7 separate regions of the Homo sapiens genome follow, and regions 2, 3, 4, 5, 6 and 7 are each linked to region 1. Evidence: promoter capture Hi-C in 16 types of primary human blood cells and fetal thymus (Javierre and others, 2016). All regions are on one chromosome and are shown on one strand. Each heading gives the region's core, a stretch centred on a gene start or on the middle of the fragment in contact. The rest is flanking DNA. Distances are from core to core; before and after follow the strand shown.

Region 1 (2,553 bases), core at 36-2,535:
AGCCCTAGATGTGTTCTTGCCCCACATGAGTGTGCCCCACCCCTCTCCCAGCCATGGGCAACCCGGGCTTTGGCAGAGAGTCTGTATGCCCCTTTCTGCCAGGGACCCTGGCCCCAGCTGAAGAGGGCAGCCCAGGCCCAGGATCCTTGCCCCCAAGCCCAGCTCCCCAGAGCCCACGGCTGTGCTGCCTGTCCTCTACTTACAGCCCTGACCTCTGTTCCCACTCTGGCATCAGCAGCCCAGCCTCTCCCACGAGAGGCTGTGGTGGGAACACAGCTCTAAGTGTCAGATCCCTGGCTCAGCCTCCCAAAAAATGAACTTGGGCCAGACATGACCCCTCTGGTCTTCCATTTCCCTGAAGGTGGGGGCACAGACACAATGTTTTCCCAGGTCGGGACTGCCAGAGCTCACATGTTGGGATAGCAGATTTCACTGACCCCAGCCAGCCCCAGGCAGCCCCGAGAGCCAGGGCTGAGCTAAGTGCATTCTACCCATGATCATACTCATCCTCGCTCTCACCACCACGCCCCGCCCAGCCCCTGCACTCAGTAAAATAAGAATTTTCATTATGTAGCACAGAAAGGTCAACAGAATCGCCTGAAGCAGCACAGCCGGCAGTGGCCAACTTGAGTTTACACTCAGGTCTGCCCGATTCCAGCTGCCCCACATGTATTCCCAGGTAGTCGTGGCATTTGCCGAGTGTTGGCCTCTTCCGCGGGCCAGGCCTGTAGACCCTTCCCAGCAGGCAGCAATTCTCGCTTGCATTTCTAAACCTTCTGGAAATGACTAAGGAAGCCTCCCCGATCCCCCATTTTTCTTTTTCCTCCTAAATGAGAATTTTTGCAGGTCCCTCCCATCTTTCACCCGTGTCCCTGCTGACTGCACTTTGATGAGGGAGGCTCAGGTGGGAAGGGGGACCCACGAGTGGCAGCTCGGGGAGCCATGGTGTTGCACCACCAGCATTTCCAGAGTCTTCTGGAGAGCTAGTGAAAATATAGATTCCTAGGTCCCCCAAGTCCTCCTGGGGGACCTAGGAATTTGCATTGTACAAGCTGTCCTGAAAATTCTGATGCCCGCTAAAGTCCAAGCTCCACCAGATAGAGGGAAGCCACAGGTTTCCCACCGTGCCAGTTTGGTCCTACCTAAATGCCTTTCTAGAGGGAGAACATGGGGATCCCCTCGGGGTCCCACCGAGCCTCCACCTCACCCTGAGTTACCTGCTTAGATGCCAACCGCCAGCCAGGAATTGCCTTCTTGCTGCCACTCGTAGCTGGCCCCTCAGACACAAGGAAGATTAATTGGCAGTAGCTGGGCCGTGTGCAAAGGATTAGCAGGTGCTGAATGGGGGAGGGGGAGAAAAGAGGCTGTTGATGCCCAGGAAACCAGCAGCACCTCCCAACTCCCAGGGTCCAGCAAGGATGTGGGCCCCAGGGAAGGGCTCCTGCATGGCCCAGGTTTGGAGCACCATGGGTTGCCAGGGGACCTGCCCGGCTTACCAGGGGCCTGGCTTCCCATACACCTTGGCCAAGACACGGAGTGGCTGATGGGAGAATAACAGCTTGGAGTTCCCATGTGATGCCTGGAGACTCCTCATGGTAGCAGGGGCTTGTCAGCTCCCACTCAGCGGTGGCAAGAGGTGTACCCCAACTCTCCAGCCCCCAGGCCAGGACGCAGGCAGGTTCTTTCTGGCTTAGAGTCTTCTCTGGGCAGGGTCTCAGCAGCCCTGCCTTGGGCTCTGCCAGAAAGGCTGTGTCCCAGGCCTGGGCCTTGAGGATGGATCCAAGACCCGGCAGATGACTGAGGCATCTGACCTGCCCTGTGAACTGAGGCTGGACACTTGAAGGGATACAGAGATCTAGGAGGAGAGGGTGCAAGGGACAGGGCCCAAGGAAGAGGGGCTCAGTGTGGTGGCCCTGAGGGATATTTGGCAAAGGGCAGGACTTGACTTAATTATCCGCACCATTTCTAGAGTTCTTCCTTTCCTTTCCTTTCCTTTTTTTTTTTTTTTTTTTAAGCCACAGTCTCTCTCTGTCACTCAGGCTAAGTGAAGTGGTGCAATCACAGCTCATTGCAGCCTCAACCTCTCAAACTCCTGGATGCAAGCAATCCTCCTGCCTCAGCCTCTCATAGTATTGGGATTACAGATGTAAGCCCCTGCACCTGGCCTAGAGCTCTTCCTTTGTGCCTGGCAGTGTGCCAGCCTTGGCACACTGAGCAAGACAGACATAGGCCCTGTCCTCATGGAGCTTACATTCCAATGGAGGAGATTACTGACAAATAAAGAATATTGCAAATTATGCTAAGTGCCATAAAAGAAACAAACAGGGCAGAAGCATGTTGTGGAGGGCAGTAGGGGCAGGTAGGCAGGCCCCTATGACGAGGTGGATGTATATTTGAACTGAGACATGAAAAGTAAGAAAGACTCAGCTGTGAAAAAAGCTGGGTGAGTGGTGCTCCAGGCCAAGGACACTGCAACGAGAAAGGTTCTGAGGCTGGAATGAGCCTTGAGGAGCAGAATGGGAACCGGGGAGCCTGGAGCTTAACGGGTGCAGG
Region 2 (2,553 bases), core at 31-2,530, 400 kb before region 1:
ATCGTCACCTCCTCCACCACCATTATCACCTCCTCCACCTTCATTATCACCATCACCTCCTCCACCTCCTCCACCACCATTATCACCTCCTCCACCTTCATTATCACCATCACCTCCTCCACCTCCATCACCACCATCATCATCTCATCCACCTCTGTTATCGCCATCACCTCCTCCACCTTCATCACCACCATCGTCACCTCCTCCACGTACATCACCACCTTCTTCACCACCATGATCACCTCCTCCACCTCCATCACCACCTCCTCCACCATCATCACCATCATCATCACCTCCTCCACCTCCACCACCTCTTCCACCTCCTTCACCACCACCATCATCTCCTTCACCTCCACCACCACCTCCTCCACCTCCATCACCTCCATCATCACCTCCTCAACCTCCATCATCACCTCTTCCACCTCCATCACCTCCATCACCACCACCTCCACCTCTGTCACCTCCATCACTACCTCCTCCACCTCCATCACCTCCATCACCACCTCCTCCACCTCCATCACCTCCATCACCACCTCCTCCACCATCATCACCTCCATCACCACCTCCTCCACCTCTATCACCTCCGTGATCACCTCCTCCACCTCCGTCATCACCATCATCACCTGCTCCATCTCCTCCACCTCTATCACCACCATCATCACCTCCTCCACCTTCATCATCACCATCACCTCCTCCACCTCCATCACCACCATCACCATCTCCTCCACCTCCGTTATCGCCATCACCTCCTCCACCTTCATCACCACCATCATCACCTCCTCCACGTACATCACCACCTTCTTCACCACCATGATCACCTCCTCCACCTCCATCACCACCTCCTCCACCTTCATCACCATCGTCATCACCTCCTCCACCTCCACCACCTCCTCCACTTCCTTCACCACCACCATCATCTCCTTCACCTCCACCACCACCTCCTCCACCTCCATCACCTCCATCATCACCTCCTCCACCTCCATCATCATCACCTCCACCTCCATCATCTCCATCACCACCACCTCCACCTCCATCACCTCCATCACCACCTCCTCCACCTCCATCAACTCCATCACCACCTCCTCCACCTCTATCACCTCCATGATCACCTCCTCCACTTCCGTCATCACTATCATCACCTGCTCCATCTCCTCCACCTCTATCACCACCATCATCACCTCCTCCACCTCCATCATCACCATCACTTCCTCCATCTCCTCCACCTCTATCATCACCATTATCACCTCCTCTACCTCCATCATCACCATCGCCTCCTCCATCTCCTCCACCTCTATCATCGCCATCATCACCTCCTCCACCTTCATCATCACCATCATCACCTCCTCCATCTCCTCCACCTCTGTCACCACCATCATCACCTCCTCCACCTCTATCACCATCGTCATCACATCCTCCATCTCCTCCACCTCTGTCATCACCATCGTCACCTCCTCCACCTCCATCATCACCATCACCTCCTCCATCTCCTCCACCTCTATCATCATCATTACCTCCTCCACGTCTATCATCACCGTCACCTCCTCCATCTTCTCCACCTCTGTCATCACCATCATCTCCTCCACCTGCACTATCACCATCATCACCTCCATCTCCTCCACCTCCATCAGCACCATCATCACCTCCTCTACCTCCATTACCGCCTTCATTTTCTCTACCTCCTTCACCACCATCACCACCTACTCCACCTCCATCTCCACCATCATCACTTCCTCCACCTTCTCTATCTCCAGCAGCACCATCACTGGTACCTTCATCACCGTCCTTGCCCCTTTCTTGCTTATTTCTATTTCCTCAGCAGTTCCCCAGTCCTCCCTCCCATTTGCTCCCCACCACCACCTTCCCAGTGTGACCACTCCTCCCTCCACCACTGTTCCATCGTAGAGCCGTCACTAACATCATCTTGGAGGAGAGCTTCCTCCAAACCACCAGGCTCATTGCTCTGAAGTTGGGGGCTCACAACAGTCTCCTCTCAGTTGTCCCTTGACCAGTGAAATTCTGTGTCAGCAGCCCCAGGGACCGCCCCAGGGACCGAGGGTCAGCCCTCTCCCACATCTCCTGAGCCTTTGTCCCACCCCTCAGGGGCCCCAGCCCTCCTGGTGCTGCTTTCCCTCTCTGTCAAGAGCTCGGTATACGGACCCTGCACAATCCCCGTCTTCGACAGCTGGGAGAATGGCACAGGCTTCCAGAACATGTCCATGTGAGTGCCCTCAGGGCTGCAGTGGGCTCCCTGGCTCTGGCAGAAGGGCCACATGGGCCTGGGGCTCCAAATGGAATATCCTGTAGGCAAAGCACTGGCTGTGGGGCAGAGAGGGAGCTGGGGCTTAGACAGGGGAGTTTGCAGGGGGCTCCACCACATCCCTTCCATGGATCCAGGTCTCCTGCAGAGGCAGCCTTGTGTTCTATGCTGGTGAAGTCTACGAAGCCAGCGTCTGCTCGCCAACCTGCCAGGGCAGCCGGGCCTCCCGCCTCCTCTGTCCTGCCCTGCCCTCCAGTGCCCAGGCCCTGAGGGTCTGGCTCAGCCTGCACTTGACT
Region 3 (2,553 bases), core at 22-2,521, 370 kb before region 1:
ATTATAAATGATGGTCATATTAGTTATCATGGCCATGTAACAAATCACTCCAACACTCAGTGGCTAAAACAACAAAATTTATCTCCCCATTTTTGTGGGCCAGGAATCCAGGGGTAGCCTAGCTAAGTGGCAATGGCTCAAGGTCTCTTATGAGGTTTCAGTCAAGTTGGAGGACAGGGCTGAGGTCTCATCTGAGGGCCTGACTGTGGAGGTGATCCACAGGGCTGCCTCATGACATGGCAGCTAGCTTCACCCAGAGCAAGTGATCTGAGAGAGAGAGATAGTATCAGAGAGAGAGAGAGAGAGAGAGATAGTATTCAAGATGGAAGCCACACTCTTTATAACCTAATATCAGAAGAGACATCCCATTATTTCTGCCATATTCTATTCATTAGAAGTGAGGCACTAAATCCAGCCCATACAAGAAGATGAGATTACCCAAAGGTGTGAATACCAGGAGGTAGGGTTCACTGGGAGACTTCCTTAGAGGCTGCCTATTGCAGTGATTTTTTAAAAATCTTCATTTCCTGATTCTTATGGCTACTATATAATTTTACATAATTGTTATTTTTTTTTGAGATGCAGTCTCACTCTGTTGCCCAGGCTGGAGTGCAGTGGTGCCATCTTGACTTACTGCAACCTCTGCCTCCCAGGTTCAAGTGATTCTTGTGCCTCAGCCTCCTGAGTAGTTGGGATTACAGGCACATGCCACCATGCTCAGCTAATTTTTGTATTTTTAGTAGAGATGCTGTTTCACCATGCTGGCCAGGCTGGTCTTGAACTCCTGGCTTCAAGTGATCCACCTGCCTCAGCCTCCCAAAGTGCTGAGACTGCAGATATGAGCCACTATGTCTGGCCTCACAATGAAGTTTTAATATTGATTTTTGTATTCAGCAACCTCGCTAAACTCTCTCATTGAATATAATAGTTTATCTGTGGATCGCTTTGCATTTTTCATATACTCGTCATATCATCCGTGAATGATAAAGTTCATTTTTATCTTTCCAATCCTTGTATGTTTTATTTTATTTATTTTCCTTGGTACACAGGCCAGGTCTTACAGAACAAGAGTTTAACAGCTGTGGTAATAGTGAGCTTCCTTATCTTGTTGCCAATCTCCAAGGAAAAGTTTTTAACAGTTTCACCTGAAAGTATACTATCTGTTGTAGTGTTTCATATACCTGTATATTAGATCAGATATTATCAGATTTAGGGAGTTCCCTTCTGTTTCCAGTTTGCTAAGGGTTTTTGTTTGTTTTAAAATCATGAATGAATGTTGAATTTTGTCAAACATCTCTTTGCATATATTGCGATCATTATTAGAATTTTCTACTTTGATCTTTTAATGTCATGAATTACATTACTTTTTTTGGTAATGTAAAATATGTATTGCATTTGTTAAACCTAACATTATCCTTTTATATGTTACTGGATTTAGTTTACTAATTTTTTAAAAGAATTTTTGCATCTATGTTCTTGAGAAAGAGTAGCCTGTAATTTTTCTTTCTCATACTGTCTAGTTGGGTTTTGGTGTCAAGAGTATGCCAGCCTCATAAAACAAGTTTGAGTCTTCATAAGAGTTTGGGGCCAACTTGGAATTATTATTTATTCCTAGAATGTTTGGTATAACTTGCCAGTGGAACTGCCTGGCCTTAAGTTTTCACTGTGGGAAGATTTTTGAGTATAAATACAAATTCTATGTCTAGGACTGCTCAGAATTTCTATTTCTACTTATGTCAATTTAGGTAAGCAATGCTTTTCTAAGGCTTTTTATAAAATTTAAATTTATTGGCATAAAGTTGTTCACAATATTATCTTTTTATATAATTATGGTCATAATAATGTTCTCCTTTTTCTATCTGACATAGGTTATTTGTGCTTTTCTTTTCTAGTGTCTTCGTTATTTCTCCAGAGGTTTGCCAATTTTACTAATCTCTTCAAAGATCCAATTTTGATTTTTGTTCATTTTCTTAATTGTATGCTTACTATTTTATTAGCTTGTGCTTTGGTCTTCCGTATACTTTTTTTGGGGGGGGGTTGAATTTACTATTCTTTTTCTAAGCTCTTTGAAATGGATGATTAGCTCATTAATTTTAAGTCTTTACTCTTTTCTATTATATGCTATATATTTTCCTGTAAGTATTAACTTTAGAAAAATTTCCTACCAGCTTTGATATATATGATATTTTCATTATTATTCACTTCAAAATGTTTTTAGTTTTTAATTGTAACTTCTCTGTGATATAAAGAAGTATGACTTTAAATTTTCCACATTATGGGGATTTCCTAGTTTTTTTTTTATTGATTTTAGCTTAATTATATTGTGGTCAGATCAACATTACATGAATTAGAAATTTATCAAGATTTGTTTTAGGCTCAGAATATGAGCCAAATTTGTAAATGTTCTGCTTGAAACATGTATCTTACAACAATTGTGTGCAGTATTCTACATATGCTCATTAAGTCTAGTTTATTAACAGAGTTCTTCAAATCTTTTATACCCTTTTGTCTCGTTTTTAAAATTAAACTGAAAACGGTGTCTTAAAATCTTCT
Region 4 (2,553 bases), core at 21-2,520, 350 kb before region 1:
TATCAAGACCCTGTCTCTCCAAAAAAATACAAAAGTTAGCCTGGTGTGGTGGGGCATGCCTATAGTCCTAGCTACTTGAGAAGTTGAGGTGGGAGGATCGTTTGAGCCCAGGAGATTGAGGCTGTAGAGAGCTATGATTGCATCACTACATTCCAGCAAGGGCAACAGAGCGAGGCCCTGTCTCGAAAACAAAGAAAAAACCCACTTCTGAGCAGGCAGTGGTTGCTCATGGCCATTTGCACAGGTGGGGACAGCTCTTCACTGTTTGCTAGGCTGGTTCCCACTAAATGCTGCTGCTCTGGCCAGAGGGTTAGAGATAGAAAAAGGGGCTGAAGACCTCCTCCTAGCCCTCCCAGCCCCACCATGTCTTCCTACTCCCCCAGGCCTCAGTCACAGCAGACAATAAGGATGCCCTAACCCCTTATCCCTGTCCTGAGGCTCTCATGTTCTTGAAGATCTCCTCCTACCTCCCCGGCAGCCTCCTCTCTACCTCCTTTGCAGGCCCCTCTGAATAACAGTGCCCTGGCCAATGCATTGGGGTGCCCATTGTCTGCCAGGCCTGGGCTGCAAGATTTACGCATGTGGCCTCATTTAATCGGCCCAATAGAAGGTGCTATTTTGGTCCCCACTTGGCAGGCGAGGAGATAAATGGATGGAGAGATGCTTGCCCAAGTCATCCAGCTGGCCGGCTGGGAGTAGAGGCCAGCTGGCCTGAACCCAGAGTCTGTGATCACAGACTCCGGGCTCAGAGAGGGTGCAGCAGCATTGCCCCCTCTCCTCTGTCCCTCAAAACGAAGGGTTTCCTGCACCTTCAGCTTTCTGCTTTCCCCACACCATCTCTGGACTCCGTCGCCAGCCAATGATGCCATGACCTTCTCTGGGCCTGGCGACCCCAGTCCCTCACTGCTGAGCCCCAACGACGTGTTTCCAGCTGCCTTGGGAAGCAGGGGGGACCTGTGGCTTCCCCACATGACACAGAGCTGCCCCCATTCCATTGCACACAGGGCAGTCTCTTCTCTGCCTTCCGGATCTGCACCCCATCCTGTGCCCCGATTCTTCAGGGACGTTTCAGACATCTTCCCCCTCTCCTCGGTCCCCACCTTCACTTGTCGGGTTGTGGGGGGTGGGGTGTCCCAGCCCTTTTCCTGGTCTCTTGGACCAAAGTCTCCTCCCCCGCTCTTCCCCCATCTGCCTCCTTCGAGGCCCCATCCGGACCCAACTTCCCCTCTACTCCTCTGCCCATCCCTCCGCATCATTGCTGGTACAAGTCCCTGGCGTCTAGACCAGGGCTTCTCACACCTCCAATTCTGGAATCCCCTGGGCATCTTATTAAAATACACATTCAGATTCAGCAGGTCTCAGGCTATCTGTAGGTCTGAAGACCACATTTTGAGGGCTAATCAGGCCTCTCCCTACCCAAACATCTTCTCTGGCTCCCCAGTACCTTTGATTTAAGCCCAAACTCTACACTTTCAAAATCTTCCAGAATCTGCCCCTTGCTGCCCAGTTAGATCCCACTTCCTTCCAAGCATGGCTCCATGCCCTACCTCTCCACCTCAGCCAATGCTGTTCCCTCTGCCTGGGGTGCCCTTCCTGCTGGTCTCTGTTTATCGAAGCCCCCTTCTTCTCCTTCAGGTCCCAGCAGGGGCTCTGGGGTCTACACGCTTAGTTCAGATCCTGGCTGTTATAGAAAGGCGTGGGTAGCCCTCCCTGTACCTCGGTTCCCCTTCTGTAAAGTGGGGATAGACTGTTGTGAGAACAGAAGGAGAAGATGAAGTGCCTAGCAGGGGCCGGATATCTGGTGTCCCGTGTTTGGTTACAGCCCACACACCTGGAGGCCCAGCCAGGTCCAAGCTGTGCGACCTTGGCTAAGTTACTTCATGTCTCTGACCATCTCTAACATACAAGTGGTACCCAACCCACAGGGTTGTGTGGATAAAATGAGAATGATCTGTACAAGCAGAGCATCTTACACCATAAAACCTCCAGACATAGCAGGTGATTATTAGTCCTGTTATCAGCACTCATAACAGATAGTGTTGTGTTTAACAAGTCATTGAATTTCTCCCCCTTTACTCCCAGAGACCCCTGGATGCTGAATACCAACTCCAGGTATCGCTACTATGAGAACCAGGCTTGTCTCTCTAGCCAGACTCAGAGCTGGGGGCCTGCTTCCTCACCTGCCTGCCCCTAGCTCATAGTAGGTCTCTGCAAAGTCCGACGGTGAGAGAGGCAGGCAGAGCTGGGCAGCCAACTCCGCCCAGCCAGGCAGCCCCATAAGCCTCTCCTATGTGGCCAGAGTGGCAGCTGGCTCCGCACTCTCTTCAGCCATCTGCAGAGAGAGTGGTGCCTTCAACTCTCCATCTGTGCCCTTCTGGTCAGCACGCTCTGTGGGGTGTGTGTGTGGTGGTGGTGGTGGGGGGACAGCTGCCCTGTGGGCCTGGTCCCTGGGGAACAGCTGAGGCTGCCCGGGTTACCAGTTGATCAGGCCCTGAAGGACTGACCTTGGGGAAACTGAGGCAGAGGTGGTGGTATGTCAGGGACAACCCATCC
Region 5 (2,553 bases), core at 20-2,519, 330 kb before region 1:
GGCAGCTTGCTTCATTTTATTCTCCTTTATTGTAGGAAAATTCCTGAAAACTGAAGTCACTCTGCTTCTGCCAGTGATCCTGGAATACCCCTCTTGGGGAGCTCTCTGTGGTCACCTAGCTTGGACTTCCGTCACTCACTTGGGGAGTGGGAATGGGGGAGGGGAGTGGGAATAGGGGAGGAGAGTGCTTCTGCCTTTGCAAGCTGTTATCCCAGGACCCATGGGTGCGGCTGAGGGGTGGGGGGACTGGGCTGGGGGTGGGGCGTAGCCCTGAGTGCCACCTGGGTCTGACAGGGGTGTCTACTTTGAGCTGTTGGGTACATGCTATTTCCAAGTAAGATTTACTTTTATTAAAAAAGTTTGGAAACCGTTGGAGGGAGGGTCCTCTCAGACGCCACGCCACCCACCATGGAGGAAACACCTGCAAGAGCCCTGCTCTTTGCACTGTGCCCCGCCCTCCCTGTCCCCTTCCCAGCTTTGAAGTCTGTTCCTCTGAGGAGCTCCCCGCCTTCTCTTGCTTTCTCCTCCTGGCCCCATGCATCCCTGTGTATGCACGGGCACACGCACTCATGCACACACACTCATGCACACACATGCACAGTCATGCACGGGCACACACACTCATCACACACTCATGCTCAGGCACACACTCATGCACACAAGGACATTCATGCATGGGCACACACACTGATCACACACTCATGCACGGGCACACAGCCATGTGCACACAGACATATGCACACTAATGCATGGGCACACACACTCGTCACACACTCCTCACACATTCATGCACATGCACACACTCATGCACGGGCACACACACCCATGCACACACATATGCACACTCATGCATGGGCACACACACTCATCACACACATGCGCAGGCACACACATGCACACACGGACACTTATGCACAAGCACACACACTGATCACACACTCATGCAAGGGCACACACCCATGCGCACACACATGCACACTCATGCATGGGCACGCACACTCATCACACACTCCTCACACACTCATGCACAAGCACACACATGCACGGGCACACACTGATCACACGCACTGGCACACACTGATCACACGTATGCACGGGCACACACCCATGCACACACACATATGCACACTCATGCATGGGCACACACTCATCACTCCTCACACACATGCACACACTGATCACACTCATGCAGGGCACACACACCCATGCACACACACATGTACACTCATGCATGGGCACACACACTCATCACTTCATAACTCATGCACACACACACTCATGCACGGGCACCCACTGATCACACACTCATGCATGGGCACACACCCCCATGCACACACACATGCACACTCATGCATGGGCGCACACACTCATCACACACTCATGCACATACACACACTCATGCACACGCACACACACCCACATGCCTGTGTAACTCGCAGGAGTTCATCCTCACCCTGCCGCCCGACCCCCTGGGCCAAATCCTTGCTTCCAAAGGCTCAGCAGCTCAGTGTCGTGCCCCAGCAGCCCACAGGAGAGCAGCTGCGGACGGGAGGGGAGCTAGGGCAGTGGAAGTTGAGCTGGGGGGGTCTTCCCCTCTGCCTCTCCCAGCGAGGGCCCATTTAAGGGGAAGGCCTCCAGGTGGGCAAGACTAGGCTGGAACCTGGAGATTGCCTCCGGGGCTCCCTCGTTCCTCCCTCCTTGGCTCCCTTCCCACCCCACCACCCCCCAACCTGATGCCTGCCCTTCTCCTGATGTCTTTCAGGAAGCCCCTTCCAGGGCCCCGCTAAATGCTGGGGGAGCCACAGAGGAGCCTGATGGGTCTGCGTCACAGGGCAGGGAAGAGAGTGCTGGAACGCAGGCTGCCCTGGCCCCGAGTCCAGGCCCTACCATCTAGCAGCTGAGGGATGCGGGGCCAGTCCCTCCCCTCTCTGACCATCTCTAAACCAGGGCTGCTGGTGCCTTTCCCTGGTTCATAAGCCCGTGGTTCCCAAGCCTGCAGTATGTCCATCAACGGGATGCTTGTTAAAGCCAAGCTCCCAAGCCCACCCCATCAGACCCTCTTTGGGCCGGGACTGTGAATCTGCATTTCAGCTCACTCCCAGAGGAAGGTCTGACCCACCGGCAGGCTTGGGAGCCTCTGATGTGAGCGCCTGTGGCAATGGGGGGCGTGTTGTGTTGAGGGTGGGTTGTGGGCCAGCAGGAACATGCGTTAATTTTGGCAAGGAATGGACGGGTAGGTGAGGCTTCATGGGGAGGACTTGTCTTAGCTCGTCTCAAAGATGAGCGGAATGTCACGGGGCTAAGTGCTATCCAAGGCAAAGGGACACCAAGGGGCAAAGGTCTGTGGGTGGGATGCCTGTGCTCGGGGGCGGGCAGTGGTCACTGTGTGTAAAGGGAAGAAGGAAGCAGTGGATGGCCAGGTTCGTGGGTCTTCCCGGCAGGAGACAGCAGAGAGGCGCCTGCCCGGGAAGGGTTAATCCCAGAGCCGTCCAGGTCCTGTCCACTCAACTTCCACCTCCATCCTCTGAGGAAATGGGTTTTCCAGGAGCTTGG
Region 6 (2,553 bases), core at 36-2,535, 300 kb before region 1:
TCATCTGCCTTCGCAGCCCTCCCTGCAGAGGAAGTTTCTGGGGCTCAGGAAGCCCTGGGCTCTGACCTGCTGCTCCATGCTGAATTCCCACCTGCTCCCACACCATGAGTGACCCTGACATCCCCTCCCTACCCCTTCCCAGACCCAGAGGGCTCAGCAGGAGACACTGAGTGGGAGGAGGAGGAAATGGAGGCCAGCAGGGGCTGAGCGGCTCCCCAGTTCAATCCCAAGGCTGAGTAGGGCTAGTGCCAGCCCCGTGGGCCAGAGGGGGATGCCAGCAACCACACACCTTGGTGGGATGCCCTTCACCTTCCAATTGCCAAGTGGCCATGGCCTCATGCACAGTGCATCCGTGGGGCCTCCAGAGTTGGCCCGAGTGGCTGGCGCCCTAATTCCTTTAGGCTGAAGCCCAGGAGTGTTTGCCACCCCCACCTCCCACCTGATCAGTGACCATTTGGGGTGTAAAGACAACAATTTCACAGCTCTGATGATCAGAAATGATGTAATGGCCACAGGCGGCTCCGCCTGCGTCATCCATGATTTCATCACACACCTCGGGAGGCTCAGGGTGACAGACAGTGCATGCAAGGTCACCCGGCCAGGAAGTGGCCAGGATGGATGTTAGCTCAGGCCTGACCAGCCCCCGGGGCCGCACTGCTGTCTTCCCGCTACCCTGCCTCTGGGTCCGTCCTGTTATCCAGGCTGGTGGGGGAAGCTCAGGCTGCAGGGCCAGCTCCTGCTCTCCTCCCACACCCTCCAGCCTGGTTCAAGCCATAGGCACCATCTGGGTCTTCGTCCTCATGCCCAGAGCCAGGCTCTGTGCCCAGCTTGTTGCAGGTCTCATCAAACCCTGACACAGCCTTAGGAGGCAGCCCCATTGCCATCTTCACTTTACAGAGGAGGAAACTGAGGCTCAGAGAGGCTCCCAGCTTGTGAGAGGAGGGGTCTGAGTAGGTGCGCCTGACTCCAAAGCCTGTGCTCACCACAGTTCCCAGGGATCCGCTCTGAGCCAGGCCCCTGTGGCCACCCAGCCCCTAGCCCCGTAGATCCCACCCCAGTGGGGCCCCGGGGGCACATACCTGGGTGGGCTCAGCAGCTCCCTCTGCAGGTGGACCCAGGGTGCGGTGAGACTGGGAGCACTGCCCAGTTCCCCACACTCACCTTTCACAACCCAACCAATGGCGCCATCGAGCAGGAAGGGTGAGAAAGAGGACACAGGAAGCCAGAGTGGTGGGGCTGCAGGGTGGGGGCAGGCCAGCTCAGCAGAGCCTGGGGCCAGAGGGCCAGACAGCCACAGAGCTCCTGGCGTGGGCAAGGCTGGCCAAGGATGGCGACGCCCAGGGGCCTGGGGGCCCTGCTCCTGCTCCTCCTGCTCCCGACCTCAGGTGAGTGGCTGGCACCTCATCCCCTCCTGCCACGCTGGGCCGACCCTGCCCTGCCGAGGGAGGGATCCAGGGACAGACGCAGGGACTGGAGAAGGTGAGGAGTTGGGGTGTCTGGGATGTGTCCTCCGATACCCCCCGTGGCCGCCTCAGCACCTTCTCTAGCCCTGTCCCTTTGGGTCAGTCCTGTCCTTCCACTAAACCTTGCTCAGGACTGGTCTCAGGTTCCCTTTGTTGCTCCACAGTGCCCTGGAGATAGGGGAGGTCGGAGGGTGCTCCCTGACTCCCCAACCTGGGCTGTGTCTCCCTGACAGGCCTGGCTCTGAGACAGGGGTTGGCCCCGGGCAGGCAATTCTCCAGCTGGCTTGTGAGATCCTGGGGACGGGATTCAGACACTCTGGAAGCTGAGGCCAGGAAGGTCTGTCACCTCGTTCTTCTGGACCTCTCCTCCCGCACATGTCACCCCACACCGGCTCCCTCTCCCAGTCTCAGCCACAACCTCTTGGTCCTCAGTGGCCTGAGCCAGGATCCACACTCCTCCCCGTCACTCTCCCGTCTCACACACAAACACATGGTGCGTCTCCAGAGGCCATGGAAGTGCCCGGGCCTTGCCTTTGCTGGCCTCTCTCCCAGGAAAGCTGTCCCCCTACCCCTTGCCCACTTAGCCAGCTCCATTTACCCTTCTTGGCCTCTGTGGCGTCTTAGCAACCCTCTCGGACAGAGGGAGGTGCTCCCCCGTTAGTGCTCCCTCCTCAGTGCTCCTGTCTCAGGGCCTTGCAGGCCACTCTCTTTTTGCTCCTGACTCGGTGAGGGGCCTGCATGTCCATCTCCCTGTGTGTCCAGCGTGTGGTCGCGTGACTTTGGCCACATAGATCAACTTATTTGGTCTTCAAATAACCCTCTTCTTTTCAAACATTGGAAGATTCAGTGGAGTGAATCAGTCCCTGGCTCAAAAAAGGGTGGGAGATGACAGCACTGTCCTCCTAGTGGCCCCGGGAGGCCCTGGTACAGAGCAGGCCACCAGGCAGCCCTTGATAGATGAATGAACGGAGCCACCGATGGCAGCTGTGACCAGGGCTCATGGGCGTCCTCAGGTCCCAGCTGTCATCGCTGGTTGGGCCTTCAAGCCTCCTCCAGGTGATGCTGTTTCCCCCATGGTGATGTGGGTGCT
Region 7 (2,553 bases), core at 16-2,515, 290 kb before region 1:
GGAGAGAGGTGGGGAGAGGAGGGATTTCTAGGAAAATCTAGACCAAATATGTCAAGACCAGAAGAATCCTCAGATCCAGCTAGCTCATGGCACAGAGAAGTAAACTGAAGCCTAGAGAGAGAGAGGGGAAGTGAAATGAGAGAGGGGGCCTGAGAAAGGAGAGGGAGAACTGGACCAGGAGGCAGGATGCCTTACTTGAGCCTGGGCCAACACGAGCCCACATGGCACCTTGAGGCAAAGTAAAGAAGGTCACCCCGTCCGCATGCGGGGTGCGCAGCCTGGAGAGTGGAGGGTGTGTTGGATTTCAGCCCCCACCTGCTGCCCAGCCAGGTGTCCTTGTTCAGGCCACCACCTGCCCAGTGATTCACAGTAGCCCTGGGTCTAGTCTGGGCTCTGCCCTGCCTGCTATGTGTGTGATCTTGGCAGGCCCGATCTCTCCCAGGGCCTCAGTCTCCTCATCTGCACCATGGGGGAACTGATCAACATGCTCTTTGAGGCCCTTTGCCCCTGCAGTGCAGAGGGCAGTGGAGCTGAGTTCAGTTTCTAGACTCACACCTTGGGATCCATGGGGCACCCACCACTGGGCCCATGGCTCTGTGCTAAGAGGAGCTGGTGAGGCCTTGGACCTGTCCCCAGGCCTCAAAAGCAGGGGCCCCAGGAGCTGGAGGGGTCACAAAGGTGCAGGCAGTGGGCCAGGTGGGGACTGCAGCGGACTGGCAGTCACAAGCCCATCTAATTAGCGGTCAGTTACTATCCTTCAGGAGGGCATCCACAGAGCTGCCAGGTGTATGATTTTATAGGAGAAGCAGAAATCTAGGTGTTTATACCAAAGCTTCTGATTTTAAAGGCGGCCACTAATTCCGTTTTTTTCACAATGTAATATGGGGCAAATGAAACATGTCTTTGAGGTCACTTTGGCATTAAAGAGACACCAGACTGGAGCCAGGTGACGGCCCCTCCCACAGCGGGAGAGCCAGGGATTGATGGGTGGAAATGGGAGAGGCACCTTCACAGACAGAAAAGCTCAGCCAGGGGACTTCCTGGGTTTGCTGGCCAGAGGTACCACTCCCAGTCCCACCACAGCTGCCCCCTCCTCCAGATGCTGGTTCCGTGAAGGGACAACCATGTACGCCCTCTATATCACCGTCCACGGCTACTTCCTCATCACCTTCCTCTTTGGCATGGTGGTCCTGGCCCTGGTGGTCTGGAAGATCTTCACCCTGTCCCGTGCTACAGCGGTCAAGGAGCGGGGGAAGAACCGGAAGAAGGTGCTCACCCTGCTGGGCCTCTCGAGCCTGGTGGGTGTGACATGGGGGTTGGCCATCTTCACCCCGTTGGGCCTCTCCACCGTCTACATCTTTGCACTTTTCAACTCCTTGCAAGGTGAGGCCCCTGCACCAGGGAGGTGATGGGCTGTGTTGTCTGTCCCAGGAGGTATTGGGAGGTGGGGAAGAGGGTGGTTTGCAAGACACAGGACTCTGTTCAGGCTAGCTGAAGTCAAGGATGTTGATTTCAAATACTCAGAGCAAGGATCCAGGGCAGCAAAGTTTGGCTGCTGTATTAGTCCGTTTGTGTTACTAGAATACAAAGGAATACTCGAGACTGGGTAATTTATAAAGAAAATGGGGTTAATTGGCTCATGGTTCTGCAGGCTTTAGACAAAGCACAACACCAGTATCTGCTCCTGGTGAGGCCTCAGGAAGCTTCCAATCATGGTGGAAGATAAAGGGGAGCCAGCGTATCACATGGCGAGAGTGGGAGCAAGGGAGTGGGGAGGCACCATGCCGTTTTAAACAGCGAGATCTCGCATGAACTCCAAGTGAGCACTCACTCATCACCAAGGGGATAGTGCTAAGCCATGCATGAGGATCCGCTCCAAGGATCCAATCTCCTCCCCTCAGGCCCCACCTCCAACATTGGGAATCACATTTGGACATGAGATTTGGAAGCAACAAACATCCCAGACATATCAGCTGCCTTCATGGGAGCTGCTACCAGAATCAGAAAAAGCCACCCAAACCAAAGCAGATACGTTCTCTATCTTTTTCCTGGAGCTATGGAGTCTCTCACCTAGTGTCTGTGGAAACTCCTTCATTCTCTCTCCACTTACCCTTTACTACCCATGGCCCCAAATTGTTACCCAACATGGCTGCCGTAACCCTACCTGACCTTGCAAGTTGGGTGTCCATCGTCCATCTCTGGTCCAATCAGCTGCGACCAGAAGGGCAGAATCATGTGATATGATGTCCACATGACATGGATGGGATCTCCAGGGATCTATGGAGGTAGGAAGGAAATGCTTGCTGTATTTGTTACTGGCCCCCGCAGGGCCCTTCCTCTGAGATCCCAGCAAAGGGGTAAGAGCAGTCCATGTGCTATGGTTTATATGTGTTCTCTTTGCTCCTTACATCCACAGCCCAGAGAGGCATCACAGTCTGACTGTGAGAGAAACAGCCAAGACAGGAGTGACGAGACTCAACCTGTTCAGGGAAGTCACTAGAAACCCAGGCGTCCTAGATGCAGCGGGTATAAGCCCCCAAGACCAGGACTGGC

What was found. Contacts are between HindIII fragments. The CHiCAGO score rates a contact against its expected background, and 5 or more counts as called.
Region 2: a contact is called between a fragment that was not itself captured here and the fragment with the promoter of CNGB1 in region 1, in 4 of 17 cell types (endothelial precursors, M1 macrophages, M0 macrophages and 1 more). The highest score is 7.2, in endothelial precursors.
Region 3: a contact is called between a fragment that was not itself captured here and the fragment with the promoter of CNGB1 in region 1, in 1 of 17 cell types (neutrophils). The highest score is 5.0, in neutrophils.
Region 4: a contact is called between a fragment that was not itself captured here and the fragment with the promoter of CNGB1 in region 1, in 3 of 17 cell types (neutrophils, M2 macrophages and M0 macrophages). The highest score is 7.3, in neutrophils.
Region 5: a contact is called between a fragment that was not itself captured here and the fragment with the promoter of CNGB1 in region 1, in 5 of 17 cell types (neutrophils, M1 macrophages, M2 macrophages and 2 more). The highest score is 6.0, in neutrophils.
Region 6: a contact is called between the fragment with the promoter of ADGRG3 here and the fragment with the promoter of CNGB1 in region 1, in 2 of 17 cell types (M1 macrophages and erythroblasts). The highest score is 6.3, in M1 macrophages.
Region 7: a contact is called between a fragment that was not itself captured here and the fragment with the promoter of CNGB1 in region 1, in 1 of 17 cell types (endothelial precursors). The highest score is 6.2, in endothelial precursors.

The regions. Positions count from the first base shown.
Region 1 is chr16:57,969,843-57,972,395 of GRCh38, forward strand. It overlaps CNGB1 (cyclic nucleotide gated channel subunit beta 1), which reads right to left and starts at 1,286. Exons shown (of 33, transcript NM_001297.5): 1 at 1,218-1,286. The HindIII fragment of the contact is 12,254 bases long and covers 1-2,553 here.
Region 2 is chr16:57,568,318-57,570,870 of GRCh38, forward strand. ADGRG5 (adhesion G protein-coupled receptor G5) reads left to right here. Exons shown (of 12, transcript NM_001304376.3): 10 at 2,101-2,218. It overlaps LOC105371291 (a long non-coding RNA gene), which reads right to left. Exons shown (of 4, transcript XR_933627.4): 3 at 2,158-2,316. Among named protein-coding and RNA genes, the nearest start is that of ADGRG5, 27 kb to the left of the region's middle. The HindIII fragment of the contact is 2,988 bases long and covers 1-2,553 here.
Region 3 is chr16:57,595,601-57,598,153 of GRCh38, forward strand. The region is part of intron 1 of LOC105371291 (a long non-coding RNA gene); the gene reads right to left. It overlaps LOC107984889 (a long non-coding RNA gene), which reads left to right. Exons shown (of 2, transcript XR_001752212.2): 2 at 1,893-2,547. Among named protein-coding and RNA genes, the nearest start is that of ADGRG1, 32 kb to the right of the region's middle. The HindIII fragment of the contact is 8,551 bases long and covers 1-2,553 here.
Region 4 is chr16:57,624,317-57,626,869 of GRCh38, forward strand. It overlaps a transcript of ADGRG1 not described here. Among named protein-coding and RNA genes, the nearest start is that of ADGRG1, 3.0 kb to the right of the region's middle. RefSeq lists an enhancer at 61-355. The HindIII fragment of the contact is 3,334 bases long and covers 1-2,553 here.
Region 5 is chr16:57,643,657-57,646,209 of GRCh38, forward strand. All of the region lies in intron 1 of ADGRG1 (adhesion G protein-coupled receptor G1), which reads left to right. Among named protein-coding and RNA genes, the nearest start is that of ADGRG1, 16 kb to the left of the region's middle. The HindIII fragment of the contact is 4,737 bases long and covers 1-2,553 here.
Region 6 is chr16:57,667,021-57,669,573 of GRCh38, forward strand. ADGRG3 (adhesion G protein-coupled receptor G3) reads left to right here and starts at 1,286. Exons shown (of 12, transcript NM_170776.5): 1 at 1,286-1,385. The coding sequence starts at 1,328. The HindIII fragment of the contact is 25,338 bases long and covers 1-2,553 here.
Region 7 is chr16:57,684,544-57,687,096 of GRCh38, forward strand. ADGRG3 (adhesion G protein-coupled receptor G3) reads left to right here. Exons shown (of 12, transcript NM_170776.5): 11 at 1,100-1,383. Among named protein-coding and RNA genes, the nearest start is that of DRC7, 9.0 kb to the right of the region's middle. The HindIII fragment of the contact is 871 bases long and covers 831-1,701 here.